3 separate regions of the Homo sapiens genome follow, and all the other regions are linked to region 1. Evidence: promoter capture Hi-C in human tissues and cell types (Jung and others, 2019). All regions are on one chromosome and are shown on one strand. The core of a region is centred on a gene start or on the middle of the fragment in contact, and the rest is flanking DNA. Distances in the headings are between cores, read along the strand shown. Region 1 holds the start of UQCRC1 (ubiquinol-cytochrome c reductase core protein 1). Region 2 holds the start of CAMP (cathelicidin antimicrobial peptide). Region 3 overlaps ZNF589 (zinc finger protein 589).

Region 1 (4,205 bases), core at 1,147-3,646:
GGCTTCCCAAAGTGCTGAGATTATAGGCGTGAGCCACCGCACCCGGCCTGTAATGTATTTCAATGTTAAGTCTCCACCCCAAAGTGAACATGGGTCATATACAACACACATGTTTATTCAGTATACTTGCATTAGGACCCCCTTCATGAGTATCTATAGCTCTTCCTGTAACCTGTTGAATATGGTATTTTTTGTTTTTGTTTTTTCTTTTTTGAGACAGAGTCTCGCTCTGTCACCCAGGCTGGAGTGCAGTGGCGCGATCTCGGCTCACTGCAACCTCCGCCTCCCAGGTTCAAGCGATTCTTCTGCCTCAGCTTCCCGAGTAGCTGGGATTATAGGCACATGCCATCATGCCTGGCAGATTTTTTGTATTTTTAGTAGAGACGGGGTTTCACCATGTTAGCCAGGATGGTCTCAATCTCCTGACCTTGTGATCCGCCCACCTCGGCCTCCCAAAGTTTGGGATTACAGGTGTGAGCCACCGTGCCCGGCCGAATATGTATGTTTAGCCAAGCCATTCGACATAAAGCTCCTGCCTCTTTTTAAGGGTCTGTCTCTGGTTTTGACCAGAAGCCCACCTCCCAGCCTGCAGGTTGTAACCCTTTATAAGAAATAAAGTCAGCCTGGCACGGTGGCTCATGACTGTAATCCCAGCACTTTGGGAGGCTGAGGTAGGAGGATCACTTGAGCTCAGGAGTTTAAGATCAGCCTGGGCAACATAATGAGACCCCCGTCTCCACAAAAAATAAAAAAAAATTAGCTGGGTGTGGTGTGAGAGCCTGTGGTCATGGCATCTGGCATGATTTTTATAAAGATAGTTTTATTTTAAGTATAAGAGTAGTTTTTGGGTAAGGTGTGGTGGCTCACCCCTGTAATCCTAGCACTTTGGGAGGCTGAGGTGGGTGGATTGCTTGAGGCCAGGAGTTTGATATCAGCCTGGCCAACATGGTAAAAAATGCAATGATCCTAGCCCTTGCCTCTTCCTGTACTTAAGATACTGTCTGACAGGATTAATGATTATGCTTCTGTGACCTATAAACAGATGTACTCTTGCACCCAAACCTTGATGAGATTTATGCTCTAATGTAACTTCTGAGCACATTTGATGTAATTTCTGAGCACATGGAGAGCCGCCACCACCAGTGTATAAACTGTCGGAAACACTGCTTTGGAGCAGTCTAGCAGAAACTCCCTGAAAGGCTCTCCCGGGTTGCAATTCTTGGTAAGACTTCTGAATAGAACTAACTTTAAATATTTAAAAGCTTGTTTTTTTTTTTCTTTAGTTGACATAACAAAGCATACCTTAGAAGTCTTTTTTTTTTTTTTTTTTTTTTTTTGAGACGGAGTTTCGCTCTTGTTGCCCAGGCTGGAAATGGCGCGATCTCGGCTCACCGCAACCTCCGCCTCCCGGGTTCAAGTGATTCTCCTGCCTCAGCCTCTGGAGTAGCTAGGATTACAGGCATGCGCCACCACGCCCGTCTACTTTTGTATTTTTAGTAGAGACGGGGTTTCTCCATGTCGGTCAGGCTGGTCTCAAATTCCCGACCTCAGGTGATCCGCCCACCTCGGCCTTCCAAAGTGCTGGGATTACAGGCATGAGCCACTGCACCCAGCCAGAATTCTTTTTCCTCTTACAGAAAAGGAAAGGTTTCACCATGTTGGCCAGGCTGGTCTTGGACTCCTCGCCTCAAGTGATCCACCTGCCTCGGCCTCCCAAAGTGTTGGGATTACAGGAGTGAGCCACCGCTCCCGGCCTGTACTTAGTTCTTTTAAAGAGAAAACTGGCAGGGCGCAAAACTGGCCAACATGGAGAAACCTTGTCTCTTCTAAAGAAACAAAAATTACCGGGCATAATCCCAGCTACTCGGGAGGCTGAGGCAGGAGAATCGCTTGAAGCCGGGAGGCGGAGGTTGCAGTGAGCCGAGATCGCGCCATTGCACTCCAGCCTGGGCGACAGAGCGAGACCCTGTCTCAGAAAATAAAAAATAAATAAAGAGAAAAAAATACTGACTTTCAGCACCAACTTGTGGTCCCAGGTAAGTTTCCACGCTGGTACTTTAGCCCTGGGCTCGAACCTGCGGACACGCTGTGGCTGCAACTCCCCGCCCGCCAGACCTCAGTACGCAGCGCGGCTGGTGAGAAACATAATGCACTCTGACTTCCACGCGTGGAATGGGGAGATGGACTGCACGGCGGGCGGACCTGCTCGGGCTGATGGACGGCAGGTGGACTGATGTGCGCAGGGACTGGCGGCAGCGCGGTCAGAGCCAGTCAGCCAAAGCCAGGCCAGCACAATAGACTGTCCCGGTTCCCGCCAGGAGGCGGCCGAGCACCAACTGTACGGTACTGCGCCTGCGCCGCGACCGCCAACGCGCCCAGTCTACGCTTGCGCGGCGCAACAGGGCCGACTGCAGCTGGAAGATGGCGGCGTCCGTGGTCTGTCGGGCCGCTACCGCCGGGGCACAAGTGCTATTGCGCGCCCGCCGCTCGGTGAGGTGGTGGCGAGAGCGCGGGGCTTCGGGACAGGGCTTCGGGAAGCGGACAGGTGTGGGCTGTTAGCAGTGGCAGGTCGAGGTGGGGAGGACGCGGGGTCAGGGCCGTGGGAAGGTCACGGCGGAGGGCGGGGAAAGGTATCTCGCCGCTTGCCTAGGGGCGGGGTTCGGGGGTCCTCCTGAGGACCTGGGAGGTGGGGAGCGATCCCCTGACCGAGTCCTCACTCGCGGCTGTTCCCTTCCACAGCCGGCCCTGCTGCGGACGCCAGCCTTGCGGAGTACGGCAACCTTCGCTCAGGCGCTCCAGTTCGTGCCGGAGACGCAGGTTAGCCTGCTGGACAACGGCCTGCGTGTGGCCTCCGAGCAGTCCTCTCAGCCCACTTGCACGGTGAGTTGGGGACGCTTTTGGGGAGAGGGCCTCCAGGTTGGGCCTGCCGTCTTTTCCCTGGTTGGGGTGTGACCTTGGGCTCGAGTCTTCCCGTTTGTGGTTTGGGTTCGGACCCAGGACCACTCACCCCGAGAATGGCCCCATTCCCTACCCTAGCCACGCCTTGGCTTCACGGGACAATCTTCACTATAAGCCAACATTATTTAGCATATAATGCCCGTTAAGTAGGCGGCCAAATTCTTTTCCAGCCTTTTGTTAAGGAGCCCATATAAGGGAAGTGATCATGTCTCCTCTTATAATGCGGAAAATGGGATTCAGACACCTTAGGTGACTTGCAGGGGTCCAGGTCTGTCAGCCTCACTGCCCAAGGTCATAATCTCCAGGCTAGACCAGAAATACATTTTAGGAAGCAAATGCATTTTAACAGTACAATGAAATGTGTGATTTTCCAAAAAATACAAATTCTCTAAATTGACACAAGAAATCTTGAGTCACAGATAGATATATGAATAGGTGAGAAGATTCCCAAGAAATAATTATCTCCTCCTCCTTTCAGCCCCCAGCCCCAGGGCCAGATGTTTTTATTGACACATCCTTTTAGTTTTCCAGAAACAATGTCCTGCGATTTAAATTGTTACTAAGCATAGGAAAAGGTGGCCTGCAACTTCCTTGTTATATGTCACTTGTTATAGTAAAGAATGCTATATTACATGAACTCTAAAATGTGCTAGATTGTAAGGAGCTGTCTGTGCTCCAGTGCCAGAGAAAGAATCTCAAGAATCTTGCCAATTTTAATCAAAGGATACTATAGATTGTAAAATGCCTCTTGCATTCCAAGATGTTAGATGTGAAATACATGTTCATCTAAGATTGTGTGATATATGGTATATGCATTGACATCTCTTAGGAAAGCAAATATCACATGTTCTCACTTATCAGTGGGAGCTAAAAAATACGTACATACAGATGTAGAGAGTGGAATGATGGACAGTGAAGACTTGGAAGGATGAAGGGGTGGATGATGAGAAACTACTTAATGGGTCCAGGCCTGGAGGCTCACACCTGTAATCTCAGCACTTTGGGAGACCAAGGCAGGCGGATCAGCTGAGGCCAGGAGTTCAAGACCAGCCTGGCAAACATAGTGAAGCCCCATCTCTACTAAAAATACAAAAATTAGCCATGCATGGCACACGCCTGTAATCCCAGCTCCTGGGGAGACTGAGGCAAGAGAATCGCTTGAACCCGGGAGGCAGAGATTGCAGTGAGCCGAGATGGAGCCACTGCACTCCAGCCTGGGTGAGAGAGCGAGAGTCCATCTCAAAAAA
Region 2 (4,205 bases), core at 525-3,024, 390 kb after region 1:
AGGTTCCTTGTCGGGGATGTACCCAGGGTCAATCCAAGACCCCTCCCCACCTAGACGCCCCTCTTCGTGGGCCCCCGCAGGAGCTTTGGGGCCCCAGTTCAACCTCTGGCTGTGACCTTTGAAGCATGTGATTGAATCCCTACACCCAATAAAAAGATGAGAAAACAGAGTCCCGGAGATAGTGAGGGGCTCTGCAGGGTCACACAGCCCAGCCCAGCAACACTGAGATGGGAACACAGGGCTGAGAGCTGAGTACTCTTAGACAGTGGCTCTCAAACTTTACAGAAGCCGGAATCTCCTGGAAAGCTTATCAAAATACGAATTTCTGGGCCCTACCCAGAGTCTGTCTGAGTAGGTCTGAGTAGGGCCTGAGAATTTGCATATCTAACGAGTCCCCAGGAAGGGCTACACTTGGAGATCTACCGCTCTAAGGGATTCCAGAGCCGGCCCTGGAGATGGAACTCAGGTTTGGGGAAGAGCCCTGGGTAGGAGGGGCTTTCTCTGTCCTGGGTTGGGGGAGTAGTTAATTGACCCATTGGATGGTCCACACTCTATGCCCCCATCAGCCCCTGCATCCCAGAACAGCCCACTCACCTTATCACAACTGATGTCAAAGGAGCCCCTGGCCTGGTTGAGGGTCACTGTCCCCATACACCGCTTCACCAGCTGGAAAGGAGAAGCTCAAGGTCAAACTTGAAACCATTTGCCATGACCTCCCAGCCACATCCCAGTGGGAAATATTCCCCAGGTGCCCCCTGTTCAGCTCCTTGGGAGGCACCCACCAACACCCCCAGCCCCCAGCCTCACCCCGTCCTTCTTGAAGTCACAATCCTCTGGTGACTGCTGTGTCGTCCTGGGGCACACTGTCTCCTTCACTGTGAAGCTCACAGGCTTTGGCGTGTCTGGGTCCCCATCCTAGTCAGAGGAGGAAATGGGGAGGCCCATTCTTGTATTTTCTGATTTGTGTCCATGACCTCCCCACCAAGAGGGCAGGCTTTCCACAGTACCTGATGTGCGACGGGCACTGGGTGCTGGGCTTGGCACTGGGGCATTGAGGGGAGGAGGACTGAGCCATTCCTACCCTCCTAGGTGAACAGTGAGTAGGAGCAGACCTCAGATGAGCTCTAACAAGGAGCCCCTCCCACTCTGGGGTGGGGGCAAGGGAAGTCAGGGGGCTTCCTGGGGGACAAGACATGCCCACTGGAACCTAAAGTCTGGATAGAGTTCTTCCCTATGTGGGGTAACGTGGTACAGAAGAGACTTAAAGCAGAGGAGGTCACTGCCCAGAGCCAATGACCCCATTCTAGTGCCTGGAGCTCGCAGAAGTCCCAAAACCTGCGTGGGGTCGGGGTGAGGGTATCTCTGCCACAGCAGGAATTATAAGGCAGGAAGCTCTCGAGCTGGGAGGAGACACGAGCTCTAGAAGGTTCCCTGGAAAACACGGGACCACATTTAAAGGGGGAGATGCCCTCCTGGCAGGCAGTGCAGCAGGAGCAGAAGGAACAACACGTGGCCAAGCCCAGCCAGAGCAGAGCAGAATGTCCCCCAAAGCTCACCATCGTGGGCCTGGGGTCCAGGTCCAGGAGGCGGTAGAGGTTAGCATCCGAGGACCGCTGGTTGATGCCATCTATAGCACGAAGCACAGCTTCCTTGTAGCTGAGGACCTGGGCAATGATGGCCAGAGGCATCACCAGGCCCAGCAGCAGGAGCACCAGTGACCACCGCCCCAGGGAGTGGCCATCCCTTTGGGTCTTCATGGTCCCCATGTCTGCCTCCCTCTAGCCCACAGGAGCCTCCTTTATGCCCAGCCTGAGCCTGATGCAAAAGCCCAACCAGGAGCCTTCCTGATCCACCCATCCCTGGCTGCCTGCCAGGGTGTGGGCTGGGGTTTGCTTTAGCCCCTGGCTATTGCTTCACAGGACTTGCTGGGCAGTGAGTGAGGCCTTCCTTGTGTGCAAGATGAGGAAGTGGTTTCTTCATCTCTGACAACCTCCCAGACCTGACCGGAGATTGTCATAGCCAGGGGTGCTCAAGAGCGTTAAATCCCTCCAGAGAGGAAGAGAGCCAGGTGCCTATTCTACATCCTTCTACTCCTCAGGAGTCAGTATGATGGACTGCTAAATCTCCAGCTCTAGGCATTGCCTGGCACCCTGTAGGCATCGATTAAGAATTGATGAATGAGGCAGGGCACGGTGGCTCACGCCTATAATCCCAGCACTTTGGGAGGCCAAGGTGGGCGGATCACCTGAGATAAGGAGTTCGAGACAAGCTTGGCCAACATGGTGAAACCCCATCTCTACTAAAAATATGAAAATTAGCCACGCATGATGGCTCACACCTGTAGTCCCAGCTACAAGCTGAGGCATGAGAATCACTTGAACCCATTGAACCCGGGAAGCAGAAGTTGCAGTTAGCTGAGATCATGCCACTGCACTCCAGCCTGGGTAACAGAGTGAGACTCAGTATGAAAAAAAAAAAAAAGAACTGGTAAATGAAGACAGTAGCCACCCCCAACCTAGAGACTCACTCTTGCAAGGGACAAGTTGCCCTTTCAGTTCAAGGCCATACCACATGCTCTCTGGACCCAGCCGTCAGCCAGACGAAGGCTCTGCTCCATCTATCCCCTTCTGCATCCTTCTTCACTGTTTTTTTCAGTCTCAAAATGTTCCCAAGCCCCTCCAGACATGGCCTTTCACCATGGCTTCTCCCAAGCCAAGTCTTAGGAAAGGTTGTCTACGCTTCTTGACCCCATCTTTTCACTCTTCTTCATGCTGAAGGCCACTGAAGGCTGGCCAACCCACCCTTGGTCCATGGCCACCCTCAAGCCTGGTCTTTGTCTGCACAGGCACTGGTGAGCCTTCCTTCTTGCTGCCCCGGTCTCCCCTGATGCCACTCTCCTGCTGTCCCTCCTGCCTCCCTGGTGGCTCCTTCTTGGTCTCCCCTAAGGGCTGTCTTCTTAATATTGAGAGCGTGTGGGGTCACCTCCTGGGCTGCTTCTCTTCCCTGGCCTCGGGTTTCCCTGGGGACGCCCTCTCCCAGGACACCAGTTATAATAGGCAGACACCACCCAGTCTGTATCTCTGAGTTCGAGACTCCCATGAACGTCCCGGTTGTCCCCACTGGGCCTCCTTGACTGCTCTTCTGCTGAGTGCCCACTGCATGAGCCCTGAAGCACCTTTGGCTCCTTCCTCCCGAAAGCACTCCCCTCTGGCCTCTCCTTCCACCCCTGCCTGGCTCCTGCCGCCATCTTCTCTCCCATGCAATGCTGCCCCAGCCTCCAGACTCCACCTTCTCTAGGTTTCAGGCTCTCCCCAGACCACAGTCCACCCTCCACACCGTTGTCCAGGGGTTCCTTTAAACCACCAATTTGGCCATTTCAACCCTCTACCTTCAGGAGCCCACACACCCCCTAGGCTGGCATCAGGGCCTGTGGCCTTTTGGTTCCCACTGCCCTCACCCCAGCCCTGCACACTGCAAGTGCCAGACTGTCACGTATGCCCCCATCACATAGGCTCATCTGAGCCTCCTGCTCTTTCTCCCAGCTCTGCCCCGATCCTTCTGTTTGGCCTGCCCTTTCACCTCATGAAGCTTTCCCTGACCTCCAACCAGGCACAGCAATCTCCTCTTTGCCCCTACATCTTCCAGGAAGTCTCTCCTGATTCGACCTCAAATTACTCCCTGTTTGGTGCTCTAGCTGAGACACCAAGCTGGGATGGGTGGCTGGTGTTGGGAGAGGGAGAGATCACAGCCAGGAGAGATAAAGGGCCAAAGTGATAGAGGGGTCCAGCGTCCATGAGGCAAATTCCGGTCCCAGCTCCTCTGTGGACTGGCCATGTGGCCCTGAGGCCTGGGGTACCTCTTGACCTCAGTTGGCCTGTGGGACACTTGGGGGCTTGGACAGCAGGGCTCCTGGAAGGTGGAAGCCTGGACGAAGGCCACCGGTTGCACACCTGGCCTTGAGAGAAGGAAGAAGTGGGCTTCTGTGCAACCTGGTTTCACAGTTCAAGTGTTGCCCCAGTGGCCTGTTGGTCAAGCAGGGCTTGCACATCAGGTCTTTTATGGCTGTTGGGAAAAGGGCCATCCAGGGATATCAGACCTCTCAGGGCTCTCCTGCTTCCTCCACCCTTCTGACTGGCTTCAGGATCCCCAAGAAGCCAAACCGGGGAGAAGCAGATGGCAATGTTAGTCCTTAGGCTAGGGCGTGA
Region 3 (4,205 bases), core at 849-3,348, 360 kb after region 1:
GTACATTTTACCTCAGAAAAAAATCAGAAACGATATTGAATTCTACTTAATAATATGCATGCTGAAGTATTCAGAGGTGAAATGTATTGAGATCTGCAACTTACTCTGAAGCGCATGAAAACATAAGATGGGCCGGGCGCAGTGGCTCATGCCTATAATCCCAGCACTGTGGGAGGCCGAGGCAGGCAGATCACCTGAGGTCAGGAGTTCGAGACCAGCCTGGCTAACATGGTGAAACCCTGTTTCTACTAAAAATACAAAAATTAGCTGTGTGTGGTGGTGCGTGCCTGTAATCCCAGCTACTCAGGAGGCTGAGGCAGGAGAATCGCTTGAATCCAGGAGGCGGAGGTTGCAGTGAGCCGAGATCATGCCATTGCACTCCAGCCTGGGCGACAAGAGCGAAACTCTGTCTCAAAAAAAAAAAAGAAAAAAAAAGGTTGGGGCAGAGAAGGGAATACGGGAAAATAAAGGATAAAGGCAGCTGCTTCCCTGATAATGAAGTAATTTGCTCCCAAGTCACCCTCATCTGTATCAATCAAGCTTGGCCCCTATGGCCTGGAAGCTGCCCTAGAGACTGGTACAAAACCTCCTGAGAAGAATGGTGTGCCTACTATGTCTCCTATACTCTATCCCTTCATGAAGCTACGCGAATTTAATGCAGGGTTAAAGTACATTGCATACCATGAATTTGATTATCAATCCAAACCTAAGACCATTCTTTGTGGCTGTGCATTGTTTTAACAGCTACAGGCTAACACTTAGTCTTTCCCTGTACTATTTTACAGTTTTAGCTGTCTTCATCATAATTATTACCAGTGTCATTATTTCCTGTCTCTATGCATCATTTCCTAAAGAATCTTGGATCTTTGAGAATAAGGACAGTGAATTTAACAACTCTATTTGGCTAGCTCCCAGAATCTCACACAGTCCTGTGCCCAGAAACCAATAAATTAAATTTCTGGTATAGCAAAGATCACAGGGGTTGGGGGAGAGGGATATGCAACATCAGAACAAGGGGGTGAACTCTATGAGGCTCTTCATCCAAAACATAACCCCATTTCGTAGAGTTGGAAAGTGTGTTCTTTTATCATTGGGTAGTTTTCTAGGAGAAAAAAACAGTCAAGAAGGCATCACAGAAAATTCATGGTTTGAGATCAGAGAAATCTGGATTTAATTCCTGACTCTACCATTTGGCCATCCACGTGTCCCTGTGCATAAATCACGTAATCCCTCTAAGCCAGATGATCTCATCTCGAAAATGGGGATGTCACCACCCATCTCCTACAGCTGTTAATGATTTAAACACAGGACTGAAATATTTATGGATTAAATGGTATGATGCCTTGGATTTTCTTTAATCCAGTGGGAATGGAGATGAAATAAAATTGGCCATGAGTTGATAACTGCTGAAGTGGGATGATGGATACAGAAGAGTTAACTCTTTTTCTACTTTTGCATCTTTGTTTTCTAAAACAAAATGTGAAAAAGAGGTCCAATGTACAAGATCAGACTATTAGATACTATTAAAGTGTTATAACTATTTGTGCAAATGTTGATGTAGGGAACTTTAATAGTGCATTTTAGGATCTTAATAACCCAAGGTTTTTATAAAAAGTTACCATTATATTTTAGAATACTCTGAATTAAAATTAAACTTGGTCATGTTTTTGTATAAGCTCAAAAAATAGAAAGACTAAGTGCAAAAACCATTATAATAAGCCTAGAACAATGGCTAACACAAGGCATAAACCACTTAAATGTTAATCACTTCCTCCCTTCCCAAGAAAGACAGATGAGCCCATTCTCTGAGAAATGAGCCAGCATTTCAGAAAAGAGAAGGGCGGGCCCAACTCACCAGATATCTAGGCTTCTCTTCCCAGGGCCAGGCAGAATCCTTGGCAGGCAGAGCTGGGGAAAGAAAGAAGCAACCTTGAGAAGCCAGCCCTACCAGGCCCATCATGAGGATCCCCAAGAGCCCTCTGAGCCTTGGCTGTGGCCACCTGAGCCTTCTCAGCTGACCCAGACCCTGAGCTCCTCTCACCTCCTGCCTTATGCTTGAGTCAACTTCTCTATGCTCTGCACCACTTCCCTATTACATTTTTACAGAAACACTGATCTTAATTAAATGTAGTAAGGTAAACTCTAAGCACTCATCATCTTTCTACCCTAAAAATTAGCAAAACTGTTGAGACAAGGCATCATTTCCCCCCATGTGTTATGTGACTCTAGTTACATGTTTTTTTTTAATTTATGAAAATGGACCGAGCACAGTGGCACACGCCTATAATACCAGAACTTTGGGAGGCCGAGGCAGGCAGATGACTTGAGGTCAGGAGTTTGAGGCCAGTCTGACCAACATGACAAAGAAACCCCAACTCCACTAAAAATAAAAAAATTAGCCAGGCATGGTAGTGCACGCCTATAATCCCAGCTACTCAGGAGGCTGTGGCAGGAGAATCGCTTGAACCCAGGGGGCGAAGGTTGCAGTGAGCAGAGATCACGCCACTGCACTCCAGCTTGGGCAACAGCAAAACTCCATCTCGAAAATAGTTTATGAAAATGTTAGGCCAGGCGCGGTGGCTCACGCCTGTAATCCTAGCACTTTGGGAGGCCGAGGCAGGCCGATCACAAGGTCAGGAGATCGAGACCATCCTGACTAACACAGTGAAACCCCATCTCTACTGAAAATACAAAAAATTAGCTGGGTGTGGTGGCGGGCACCTGTAGTCCCAGCTACTCAGGAGGCTGAGGCAGGAGAATGGCATGAACCCGGGAGGCAGAGCTTGCAGTGTGCCGAGATCGCACCACTGCACTCCGGCCTGGGCGACAGAGCGAGACTCCGTCTCAAGAAAAAAAAAAGAAAATGTTAAACACAGAAACAGAAGTCTGTGATTTAATGAAAATATTTTTTAAAAATGTGTCAGGCCGGTTTCAGTGGCTCACGCCTGTAATCCTAACACTTTGGGAGGCTGAGGTGGGAGGATCACTTGAATCCACGGCTTCAAGACCAGCCTGGGTGACAATGAGACCCACATCTCTAATAATAAAAATAATAATTATTATATTGTTTTAAAAACTTGTCAATGTTATTCCTTATTTTACAAAAGAGCATGAGTAAAAGGAGAAAAAAGTATTAAAGACCATTACAACAGCATTTCTAAAGCGCAGCTTGTCAGACTCTCATTCCTCTTCAAATTATTGTGGAACTGATTGATTGATTGATTGATTGAGATAGGGTCTCACTATTGCCCAGGCTGGAATGCAGTGGCACAATCTCTGCTCATTACAACCTCCACCTCCTGGGCTCAAGTGATCCTCCCACCTCAACTTCCCTGGGATTACAGGCATGCACCACCATGCCCAGCTAATTTTTGTATTTTTTGTAGAGATGGGGGTTTCACCATGCTGGCTAGGCTGGTCTCGAACTCCCGACCTTAAGTGATCTGCCCACATTGGCCTCTCAAAGTGCTGGGATTATAGGCATGACCCACGACGCCTGGCCTATTGTGGAATTTTAAAAGGTAAGATTTTAACATCTCTGGAGGGAAGCTCAAGCTTTCCCTGCCATATCTGTTTTTTTTTTTTTGAGACAGAGTCTCACTCTGTCACCCAGGCTGAAGGTCAATGGCACGATCTCAGCTCACTGCAACCTCCGCCTCCTGGGTTCAAGCAATTCTCCTGCATCAGCCTCCCAAGTAGCTGGGATTACAGGCACCTGCCACCATGCCTGGCTAATTTTCGTATTTTTGGTAGAGACAGGGTTTCACCATGTTGGCCAGGCTGGTCTCGAACTCCTGACCTCAGGTGATCTGCCTGCCTCGGCCTCCCAAATGCTGGGATTACAGGCGTGAGCCACCGCGCCCAGCCTTCTCTTCCATATCTTTGCTGAGGGGAAAGAAGAATGTTTTTCTGATCCTTGGGTGTCACTGATTCTGAAAGTTCAGAAAAGGAACTGGGATGTCATATTTCTAACCTGTGACCTGTGCCTTTGTAGAAGGGACAGAGTCTGGGGAAGGGAGTGCCTCTCAGGGGGACGAGGGTCTTAGCAGCAGTCTGAAGCTTCCTCCTTGACACCCTTTATTCCAGGCATATGTGTTTATAAGATACATAGAAGCTGGCCAGGCTCTGCACGGTGCCTCATGCCTGTAATCCCAGCACGTTAGGTGGCCGAGGTGGGCTGATTGCTTGAGCCCAGAAGTTCAAGA

The links. The method cuts DNA at HindIII sites, captures the fragments that hold promoters and counts their contacts. A contact is called where the count stands out against the background at its distance.
Region 2: a contact is called between the fragment with the promoter of CAMP here and the fragment with the promoter of UQCRC1 in region 1, in 4 of the 25 tissues and cell types used here (IMR-90 fibroblasts, lymphoblastoid cells, small bowel and 1 more).
Region 3: a contact is called between a fragment that was not itself captured here and the fragment with the promoter of UQCRC1 in region 1, in 1 of the 25 tissues and cell types used here (bladder).

The regions. Positions count from the first base shown.
Region 1 is chr3:48,607,837-48,612,041 of GRCh38, reverse strand. It overlaps UQCRC1 (ubiquinol-cytochrome c reductase core protein 1), which reads left to right and starts at 2,396. Exons shown (of 13, transcript NM_003365.3): 1 at 2,396-2,490; 2 at 2,740-2,880. The coding sequence starts at 2,422. RefSeq lists enhancers at 2,006-2,115, 1,812-2,326, 2,406-2,505 and a silencer at 2,676-2,775. The HindIII fragment of the contact is 22,312 bases long and covers 1-4,205 here.
Region 2 is chr3:48,221,064-48,225,268 of GRCh38, reverse strand. It overlaps CAMP (cathelicidin antimicrobial peptide), which reads right to left and starts at 1,774. Exons shown (of 4, transcript NM_004345.5): 1 at 1,557-1,774; 2 at 808-915; 3 at 595-666. The coding sequence starts at 1,757. RefSeq lists a silencer at 1,796-2,090 and enhancers at 2,100-2,149, 2,160-2,289, 2,310-2,429. The HindIII fragment of the contact is 5,660 bases long and covers 1-2,929 here.
Region 3 is chr3:48,245,328-48,249,532 of GRCh38, reverse strand. It overlaps ZNF589 (zinc finger protein 589), which reads right to left. Exons shown (of 4, transcript NM_016089.3): 2 at 1,856-1,908. Among named protein-coding and RNA genes, the nearest start is that of ZNF589, 6.3 kb to the right of the region's middle. The HindIII fragment of the contact is 4,289 bases long and covers 1-4,205 here.